Regions from separate parts of the Homo sapiens genome. Here regions 2 and 3 are each linked to region 1. Evidence: promoter capture Hi-C in human tissues and cell types (Jung and others, 2019). All regions are on one chromosome and are shown on one strand. The core of a region is centred on a gene start or on the middle of the fragment in contact, and the rest is flanking DNA. Distances in the headings are between cores, read along the strand shown.

What was found. The method cuts DNA at HindIII sites, captures the fragments that hold promoters and counts their contacts. A contact is called where the count stands out against the background at its distance.
Region 2: the fragment with the promoter of DOC2A here is called in contact with a fragment that was not itself captured in region 1 in 5 of the 25 tissues and cell types used here (IMR-90 fibroblasts, dorsolateral prefrontal cortex, lymphoblastoid cells and 2 more).
Region 3: the fragment with the promoter of TAOK2 here is called in contact with a fragment that was not itself captured in region 1 in 1 of the 25 tissues and cell types used here (dorsolateral prefrontal cortex).

What each region holds. Positions count from the first base shown.
Region 1 is chr16:30,401,364-30,404,461 of GRCh38, reverse strand. No RefSeq gene overlaps it. Among named protein-coding and RNA genes, the nearest start is that of ZNF771, 4.7 kb to the left of the region's middle. The HindIII fragment of the contact is 5,860 bases long and covers 1-3,098 here.
Region 2 is chr16:30,009,762-30,012,531 of GRCh38, reverse strand. It overlaps DOC2A (double C2 domain alpha), which reads left to right and starts at 1,505. Exons shown (of 11, transcript NM_003586.3): 1 at 1,505-1,629; 2 at 2,297-2,571. The coding sequence starts at 2,310. RefSeq lists a silencer at 1,539-1,598. The HindIII fragment of the contact is 30,604 bases long and covers 1-1,665 here.
Region 3 is chr16:29,972,542-29,975,349 of GRCh38, reverse strand. TAOK2 (TAO kinase 2) reads right to left here and starts at 1,482. Exons shown (of 16, transcript NM_016151.4): 1 at 702-1,482. It overlaps TMEM219 (transmembrane protein 219), which reads right to left. Exons shown (of 6, transcript NM_001083613.2): 6 at 2,302-2,400. LOC124903762 reads right to left here and starts at 1,728. Exons shown (of 2, transcript XM_047435036.1): 1 at 1,570-1,728; 2 at 715-1,353. The coding sequence starts at 1,728. The coding sequence ends at 715. RefSeq lists enhancers at 392-521, 228-999 and a silencer at 1,423-1,792. The HindIII fragment of the contact is 10,689 bases long and covers 1-2,045 here.

The DNA of each region.
Region 1 (3,098 bases), core at 3-2,502:
TGATCCACCTGCTTCGGCCTCCCAAACTGCTGAGATTATAGGCGTGAGCCACCGCGCCCGGCCTGGATACAATATTTGAGATGAACCTTGAATGATGAGAAAGGGTTAGCCATTTGAAAATCTGGAAGAAGAGTGTTTGAGACTGAACTGCAGAGGCCTTGAGGCAGAAGCTTGTGTGTTTGAGGAATAGGAAGAAGACTTGTGTTGCTGGATCTGAGCATCCAAGGGAGTGAACAAGGGGAAATGTAGCAAGGGAGATGGAGGAGAGGTAGGCAGAGGGTAAACTTGGCCAGAACCCAACCTCTAGCGAAAGCAAAGCATCTCGCTCTGATTAAGAGAGAATCAGTGAGGAGACTCAGCCAGGAGCCTGTCTCTGGCAGTGAAAGTCCCTACTGGAAGGAGCCTCCTGCTGTTTTAAATAGGAACTTGGAAAAAGAAGGTAAAGGGCTCCATCGATTTGCCCTGCAACCATGTACAGGTATCTACTTGCAATACGATCTAGTTCATGTTCTTGAGGATCTCATAGTCTAGTAAAGAAGTTTTTGGGCCATGCGCGGTGGTCACACCTATAATCGCAGCACTTTGGGAGGCTGAGGCAGGTGGATCACCTGAGGTCAGGAGTTCGAGACCAGCCTGGCCAACACCCCATCTCTACTAAAAATACAAAAATTAGCCTAGTGTGGTAGCGCATGTCTATAGTCCCAGCTACTTGGGAGGCTGAGGCAGGAGAATTGCTTAAACTCTGTCTCAAAAAAAAAAAAAAATAAGTTTTTGGGGCCAGGAGCAATGGCCCATACCTGTAATACCAACACTTTGGGAGTCCAAAGTGGGTAGTCGCTTGAGGTCAGGAGTTCAAGACCAGTCTGGCCAACATGGCGAAACCCTGTCTTTACTAAAAATACAAAAATTAGCTGGGCATGGTGGCACACGCCTGTAATCCCAGCTATTTGGGAGGCTAAAGCATGAGAATCGCTTGAACCCAGGAGGTGGAGGTTGCAGTAAGCTGAGATCGTGCCACTGCACTCCAGCCTGGGCAACAGAGCAAGACCCTGTCTTAAAAAAAAAAGAAGACGGAGAAGGAGGAAGAAGAAGAAGAAGAGGAATAGGAAGAGGAAGAAGAAGAAAAGGAGAAGAAGAAGAAGAAGAAGAAGAAGAAGAAGAAGAAGAAGAAGAAGAAGCAGCAGCAGCAGCAGCTTGTGGGCTGGGCGTGGTGGCTCTCACCTGTAATCCTAGCACCTTGGGAGGTTGAGGCAGGTGGATTGCTTGAGCTCAGGAGTTGGAGACAAGCCTGGGAAACGTGGTGAAACCCCGTCTGTACAAAAATCACCAAAAAAAAGAAAATTAGCTGAGCATAATAGTGCACGTGCCTGTAGTCCCAGATACTTGTGCGGCTGAGGCAGGAGGAGCACTTGAACCTGGGAGGTTGAGGCTGCAGTGAGCCGATATTGCATGCTGCACTCCAGCCTGGGTGACAAAGTGAGACTCTGTCTCAAAAAAAAAAAAAAAAGAAGCTTCTGATTTAAAATAGATCTCTAAATATACAGTATGAGTGATATAAGAAAAGGATAACAGGGTGTTCTAGCAGGAGAAGAGTGGGGTAAGTGAACCACTCTTTCGGGGGTATTAGGTATTTCGTGCTGGTCTCACTGAGAAGGTAACTGTGAAGGACCTTGAAAGATGAGTGGGTGTCAGGTGTGGTGACGCACACCTATGGTCCCAGCTACTTAGGAGGCTGAGGCAGGAGGACTGCTGGAGCCCAGGGGTTCAAGGCTATAGTGCACTATGTGCCTGTGAATAGCTACTGTATTCCAGCCTGGGCAATATAGTGAGAGCTCATCTGTAAAAAAAACAAGCAAACAAAAACTAAAGATGAGTGGGACTTTGCCAGATTGGCAAGGAGGCAGTAGTTTGTGGAAATATATATATATATTTTGAGACAGGGTCTCACTCCGTCCCCCAGGCTGGAGTGCAGTGTGCAGTCACAGCTCACCGCAACCTTGACTTCCCAGGCACAAGCGATCCTCCTGCCTCAAGCCTCCCGAGTAGCTGGGATTACAGTATTTTCTGGTGGTGGCGGGGGTCGTTTTTGTTTTTTGGAGACAAGATCTTGCTCTTTTGCCCAGGATGGAGTGCAGTGGCATGATCATGGCTCACTGCAGCCTCAACTTCCTGGGGCCAAGCGATCCTCCCACCTCAGCCTCCTGAGTTGCTGGGACTACAGGTGCATTCCACCTAATTTTTGTATTTTTTGTAGAGAGGTCTCACTATGTTGCCCAGGCTGGTCTCGAACTCCTGGCCTCCTGGCCTCCTGCCTCAACCTCTCAAAATGCTGGGATGACAGGCCTGAGCCACACCTGGCCTGGAAAGGCCTTTGGATCACAGAGGATTCTTTCCAGCTCATAGGTTTGCTGGACATTTCTCACCTCACTTGTAATTATTTGTTCAATGTCTATCTCCCGCATAAAAACAGGTCAGGGACTTTGTCTTGTTTATCTTTCTATCCCAGTATGCAGCACACAATAGGTGCAGCTGTTGAGTGAGTAACTATCCTCAAGAAGCTCTTCATGTGTTAGGTGCTCAGAGACGGGTTGCTCAGAGAAGGGGATTGTAACTAACCCAGACGAGGGTCAGAGTAGGCTTCTTGGAGGAAGTAGTGCTTGAGGTGTTTTGACAGAGGAGATTAACAAGGGGTGGGTAGTGGTGGAGGAGCATTCCAAGTAAAAGAAACGACATTTAAGGAGCCCAGGGCTGAAACTACACAAATGGAAGGGCTTGAGTGCCAATGAAAGTTAGGCTTTGGGGACAGCATGTGGAGATCCACTGGGGTTTCAATGGGGGAGTGACATGGCCAGATGTAATTTTAGAAAGCAGGCCAGGCACGGTGGCTCATGCCTATAAATCCTAGCACTTTGGGAGGCCGAGGCGGGCAGATCACCTAAGGTCAGGAGTTTGAGACCAGCCTGGCCAACATGGTGAAACCCCGTCTCTACTAAAAATAAAAAAATTAGCCAGGCGCGGTGGCGGACGCCTGTAATCCCAGCTACTAGGGAGGCTGAGGCAGGAGAATCGCTTGAACCCGAGCGGAGGCTGCAGTGAGC
Region 2 (2,770 bases), core at 256-2,755, 390 kb after region 1:
CGCATATCGAAATGTACCATCTTCACCATTTTTAAGGGTAAGATTAGGTGGTGTTAGGTATGTTCAGTTGTCGTGCAACCAGATTGCTGTTTTAAATAACAGCACTTAGAGATGCCGACTTCGTGCCAGGCCCAGTTTGGGACATTAGGGACTCCCAGATGAATCAGCCGCTCCAGTGGAACTCCCTGCTGGTGGGGGAGGCACTGGCGAAGCGGTGCTGAGCCGAGTCCTGACGGCGCTGGAGCTGAGGGGCAGTGCGGGATGCCCCAGGAAGGCTCCTAGGAAGAGGGGACCCACGGTGACTTCCTAAGGAAGCGCGGTTCCCAGGTAGAGGAGCGCATGTGAGCCAAGATCCCTAGGCCTGAGCCGTCTAGGTGTGTCCCAGGAACTGCAGGAAACGGTTGGGTGAGTCAGTGGTGGGCAGCGAGGGTGATAAGCCCCTTCGTGTCTTCGGGATGGTAAGTTTGGGGCACAGGTGAGTGAAGACCGAAGGCCAGGGGTGGACTGACACTCCGTGGCAGGCGCAGGGCCGGGCAGGGGGGCGGCTTGGGGGTGGCAAGGTTTGGGTGAGAAATGGCAGCCCATGGGGAACTACCGCAGGGCTCTGAGACCTTCAGAGCCAAGCCCCGACGCCCCTTCCCACCTGCGGGGCAGAACTGGGGATGGCAGGGGGGAGGGTGGTTCCCAAAGGAGATACCATCCCTGGTAAGGGGACATGGGCCCCTGGGAGTTGGGTTGGGCCACAAGGAGAGAGGCCTGAACGGCCAAAGGGAGGGGGCGTGGGGGAAGCCGCAGCATCAGACCTCTGCCTCCTCCCTCAGATCGTGAGGCTCCCCAGCCTGGCTCGGGAGACCCCGAGATCCCCGGCCGGTGACAGCAGGCGACCCCCTGCTCCTGTCAACCTGTGGGTCCCTACGGACGTGGGGAAGGGAGGAGGGAGGCCCCAGCTCCCTGCGGGGGAGGGGCGTGAAGACGCGCGGGGGTGGGGGGAGATGAGCCGGCGTCGCCATGACAACGAGGCCGGTGGTCCGGCCTTGGGGACCCGGGAGGGAGGGAGGCGCCGTGGCCGCGCGCGCGGGCGGGGGCGGGGGGCCAGGTCTCCCAGGAGTAGTTGGGGAACACCCGGCGATTCTGGCGGCTGCTTCCTGGTGGCGCAGGGAGCCCGCGTGTTTGCGAGTGCGTGTGTGTGCGAAGTTCTCCGGGTAAGTGTGCCAGCGCGCGCCTGGGTGTGTGCAAGGGTGTGAGCGTGCACACGTGGGCACGGGCGTGTGCGCGCGGGGGTGCCCGGTTGGATGTGTGCACACGAGTGTGTGCCGGTCCGCGTGCCCCTGCGTGAGTGTGCGCGCGCGAGCACACGTGTGTGTGCGCGCTCGCGTGCGCTCCCGAGCGGGCCCCGGGTGGGAGTCCGAGATCCCGCCCCCTCCCCAGCCCCAGCGCCCCTCCCCGTCCCCCGCCGCCGCGCCGGCTGCATCCTCGCCTCCACCTCGCTCACCCCCTCCTCCCCGCACTTTCTCGGCGCTCCCTCCCTCTCGGCTCGCACAGCTCGACTCCGCGCTCTCCTCGCCGGCCGCCGCCGCCCAGCCTGCGCCCGCCGTCCCCCCAGTGCCTGGGCACCTGTTGGAGGCAGAGGCAGGTGCAGGGGGCTGGGCAGGCCGGGGGCGTGAGGGTGCGGGGAAGCGTGCCAGCCTGTGTGCGCTACGGGGGTGTTCGGCTCTCCTGCGGCTGCAATTTCTGGCTCCCCTGAGGAGCCAGAGGTGGCATCTGAGGCTGGGGTCTCCACCGTGGGCTGTGGTGAGCGAGCGGGGGAACCAGGCAGGCAGACAGGTCCTGGGGCTGAATGAGGGGACAGTGGGCAGTTGGAGCCTAGAGGGGTGGGTGACACCCTGACTAGACCAGCGCCTGGTGCAGAGGAGGACAGAGCCTCCGAGAAACAGAGGCGGGGCCCTGCAGGGCCCCTTGGGGGACAGGCAGGCTCAGGAGCAGAGGGGAGCCCCGGAGGAGAGGAAGGAGCTGGCAAGATGATACAGGGACAACCTAGAAGTGGGTGGGTGAGGACGGGGTGGTGCAACCTCGACTTCTGCAAGGAGTGGGTTGGCAGCCCAGCCCCTGTGGAGTCAGCTTGGGGTCTGCAGGGCCCAGGCCTCCCACCTGCCACCGGCTGGCACACACCACCCTCTCCCTCGACACCTAGGAAGGGAGGCCAGTGAGGGCCCCACAGACCGAGGAGGCCGTCGCCTGGCCCTCAGCCAGGATGGCTAGGTATGATGGGCTCACTGGCTCACACGCCCTCTCCTAGCCAGGGGTGCTGCATGAGGGGCCGCAGGGGCGATCGCATGACCATCAACATCCAGGAGCACATGGCCATCAACGTGTGCCCCGGGCCCATCCGGCCCATCCGCCAGATCTCTGACTACTTCCCCCGGGGACCAGGACCTGAAGGGGGCGGCGGGGGCGGCGGGGAGGCCCCCGCCCATCTGGTCCCCCTGGCTCTGGCCCCCCCTGCAGCCCTCCTTGGGGCCACCACGCCTGAGGATGGTGCGGAGGTGGACAGCTATGACTCGGATGATGCCAGTGAGTCTGGGGGCTTGGAGGCCCCATGTGCTGGTGGGGGTCTCCAGGCTTGCCGTGGTGGGGGGAGAGGGGGATGGGCCCTGCTGGCTGTGCATGTAGGTAGGGGAGGAGGGCAGTGGGGGGGTGGCAGGGACGGCCACCACAGCTGCAGTCAGCGTGGAGATTACAGCTTCAGCAAGGCTCAATATTCAGTATTTCT
Region 3 (2,808 bases), core at 233-2,732, 430 kb after region 1:
CGGCCTCAACGTTCTCAACTGTAAAATGGGAAGATGCCAATAAAAGAGGCCCCCACAGGGTGAATGCGGGGATGTCACATGAGAGAATGGCTGTCAAAGCACTTTGTAAAAGACAGATCGTTTGACAAATGGATGAGATTATTGACACCATCACAGCAAGAGGTTGGAAGGTAACTGCAGCTGGGGGAAAACATTGCCAGGCACCTCCAAGCACACACACACACGCATACACACAAACACATATACACACACTTCCTTGCAAGGACAAGAAATCCAACCAGACCAGGCCTGAAAAGCAGATAAGCAGACCCACCATGGGAATCAGAGGCATGGGAATCAAAACCACAGAATAGCCAGGAGAACGGGACATATCAGGGAGGAGAGGTGGCTGTGAGGGGCAAAGTGAAGGAGAGAAGACTGAAGTGCAAATCCATCTGATTAGCTGAAGCACCCTAGGGTGTGAACGCCGGTGACATCAGAGACCCTGTCACCTGAGGTCCCCCACCAACCAGACACAATGAAGGGAAGAGGAAGGGGAAGGGGGTGGCAACAGAAGGCAAGGCTAGCCAGAGGCTGACCACTCGCTCAGCTGGGCTTCCCCATCCTGAGAGGGCCTACCCAAGTCCAGCTTCTCAGAAAGGCGCACCCTTTCTTCTCAGAACTAGACACAGGGACCCGCGCCCCTGCACCCCGTGTCTCACCTGGTAGGGGTCACTATGGTGCCCCAGCGCCTCCGCTTCCGCCTGGGGTCCTCCAGCGGCTCTGCCAAGCAGGGAGAGGGGCAAGGAGACCTTTCCCCTTGCCACCTCTTCCTCGGCTTTCGCCCTTCCTGAGGGGCGGGCCCGGGAAGCCTCCCCTGGAGGGGAGGGGGTGACAACCTAATCTGACCTCGCGGTCCAGTCCTCCCCCTCGTCGAGGGCGACAGCTGCCGAATTCCGGATTTCTGATTGTGGGGTCTGAACCCCGAATATCTGAACGGGATGGAGACTGAATCCGATATTTGAACGCCCGGGGAATGAACCCCGGATACTGGTGCACGCAGGGGCCTGAACCTGATATTTGAAATTCTATGAAACAGAGACCCAGGTTTAGAGAGGTTGGGACCCGAGTCCCGGATATCTGGACTATGAGGACTGTTACCCGGGTATCTGAGAAAGGAGGAGGGGCAAAGCCTGGAAATTTGGGACCCAGGGGCCTGAGCTGTAGGTCTTCGGCCACCGACTGGGGGCCCACCCCGAGGACGTCCGGCCGCACGGCCCCTCTCACGCCGGGGTCCGAGGGTGACAGCCCCCACTCCCGCCCCGGCCTCCTCCCTCTCCCTTCTCTCTTCCGAGAATAGCTGAACGATTGTAGCTAAGGTGCTGCTGACGGTCCCCGCGCCCTCTCTGCCTCTCCTCTTCTCCGTCTCAGCCTCTCTCCGCACCACAGCCCCGGTCTCGTCCCGGTCTCCCTCTCCCTCTTCCTCCCAATTCCAAGATGGAGACCGGGCGGGAGCGCGCAGGCGCGGTAGGGACGCCGGGCTAAAGGGGGCGGGGGCGCAGAGGACTCAGCCCCGCCCTCTCTCCTCACTGCCGCGGCCTGGGAGACCGGCAGCCGCCAAGCCCGAGTGCGCGCCCGCCCCGCCACGCGGACCCCAGGCCGGAGGAGGCGGGGAGAAGAGCTAGACTTGCAAGGGGAGGAGCCCGGCACTCTGTCCCACGACTGGCGGTGGACAGAGCTGCAGCGCATGCGCTCGCCCCGCCTTCGCTCTGAGCCCGAGCTTGTTGCTAGGGGAAGCTTTGAGGGGGCGCGGGTGGACGGACAGCAGCGGCGATCTGCGACTGCGCGCAGGGTGGAAGTTGGGAGGGGCAAAGGAAGCTGCTGCTGGGCGCGGAAAAGGCGGGAAAATAGACTGCTCCGAGGTTAGCAACCATCTAACCTGGAAAAGGGCCTCCAAGTGCGAGGAATCTTTGCGCGTCGACGCTGGGAAAACTCAATCGGTCAAATCTCTTACGGAAATTGAGGCGCTGCAGGTTGCAAGACTTGCCAAGGTCACAGTGCATTTATGTCACAGCATTTCCATGACCTGACACCCCACCCGCCCAACTAACTGTAATTATCCATTTTATTTCGTAGAAGAAAACAAGACAGGTGTTTACCAAAGCCAAGTCAACCATGGGGAGAGCTCAAGTAACCTATGCCCTATGCCAACCTGTGTCCAAACTAGAGAGTCAACAGGAAAGAGTCCCCCAAAACTTCTAAGCCTGCCTACCCTAAAATCCCCACCTCAATCCAACCCCCAATAAACACCATACACGCCACTGGGCAAAAAAGCTTTTTATTTTCCCCCACATTCCAGCTCTTCACTTTTTCTAAAACCTTTTCCAACTCAGAGCCAAGGCCCAAGAAGTTGATTCACACCTGGGGAGAAAGAAAATAAAACAACAAAACAGGTCGAAGAGCTGCTAGAGGAAGCTCTGAGATGTGTGCAGAAATTGAGGAAGGAGCAGAGGGAGTGACAGCTAGAGACCAATACGGGCATTTAATCCCAACTAAGGTAGCCTCAGGACCCCAGGGTCTGTCAGGGGCCAGGAAGCCCTCCTTTCCCAGTCCAAGGTTGAGAGGGTCCTGTCATTTCCTGTCCCAAGTAGGTGGTTGGGGCATTTAGGCCCAGCCATCAGCAAAATAAGCACAGTTGATCTTGAGCTTCCACTTCCTCTGGCCTGATCAGTTCCCTGGGCCTCAACTATTTCCACTTTTCCCATAGTAACTTCCTAGGGCACTGCAGCCAGCTGAAGCTGAGACCAGTTCAAGAGCTGGATGCATAAC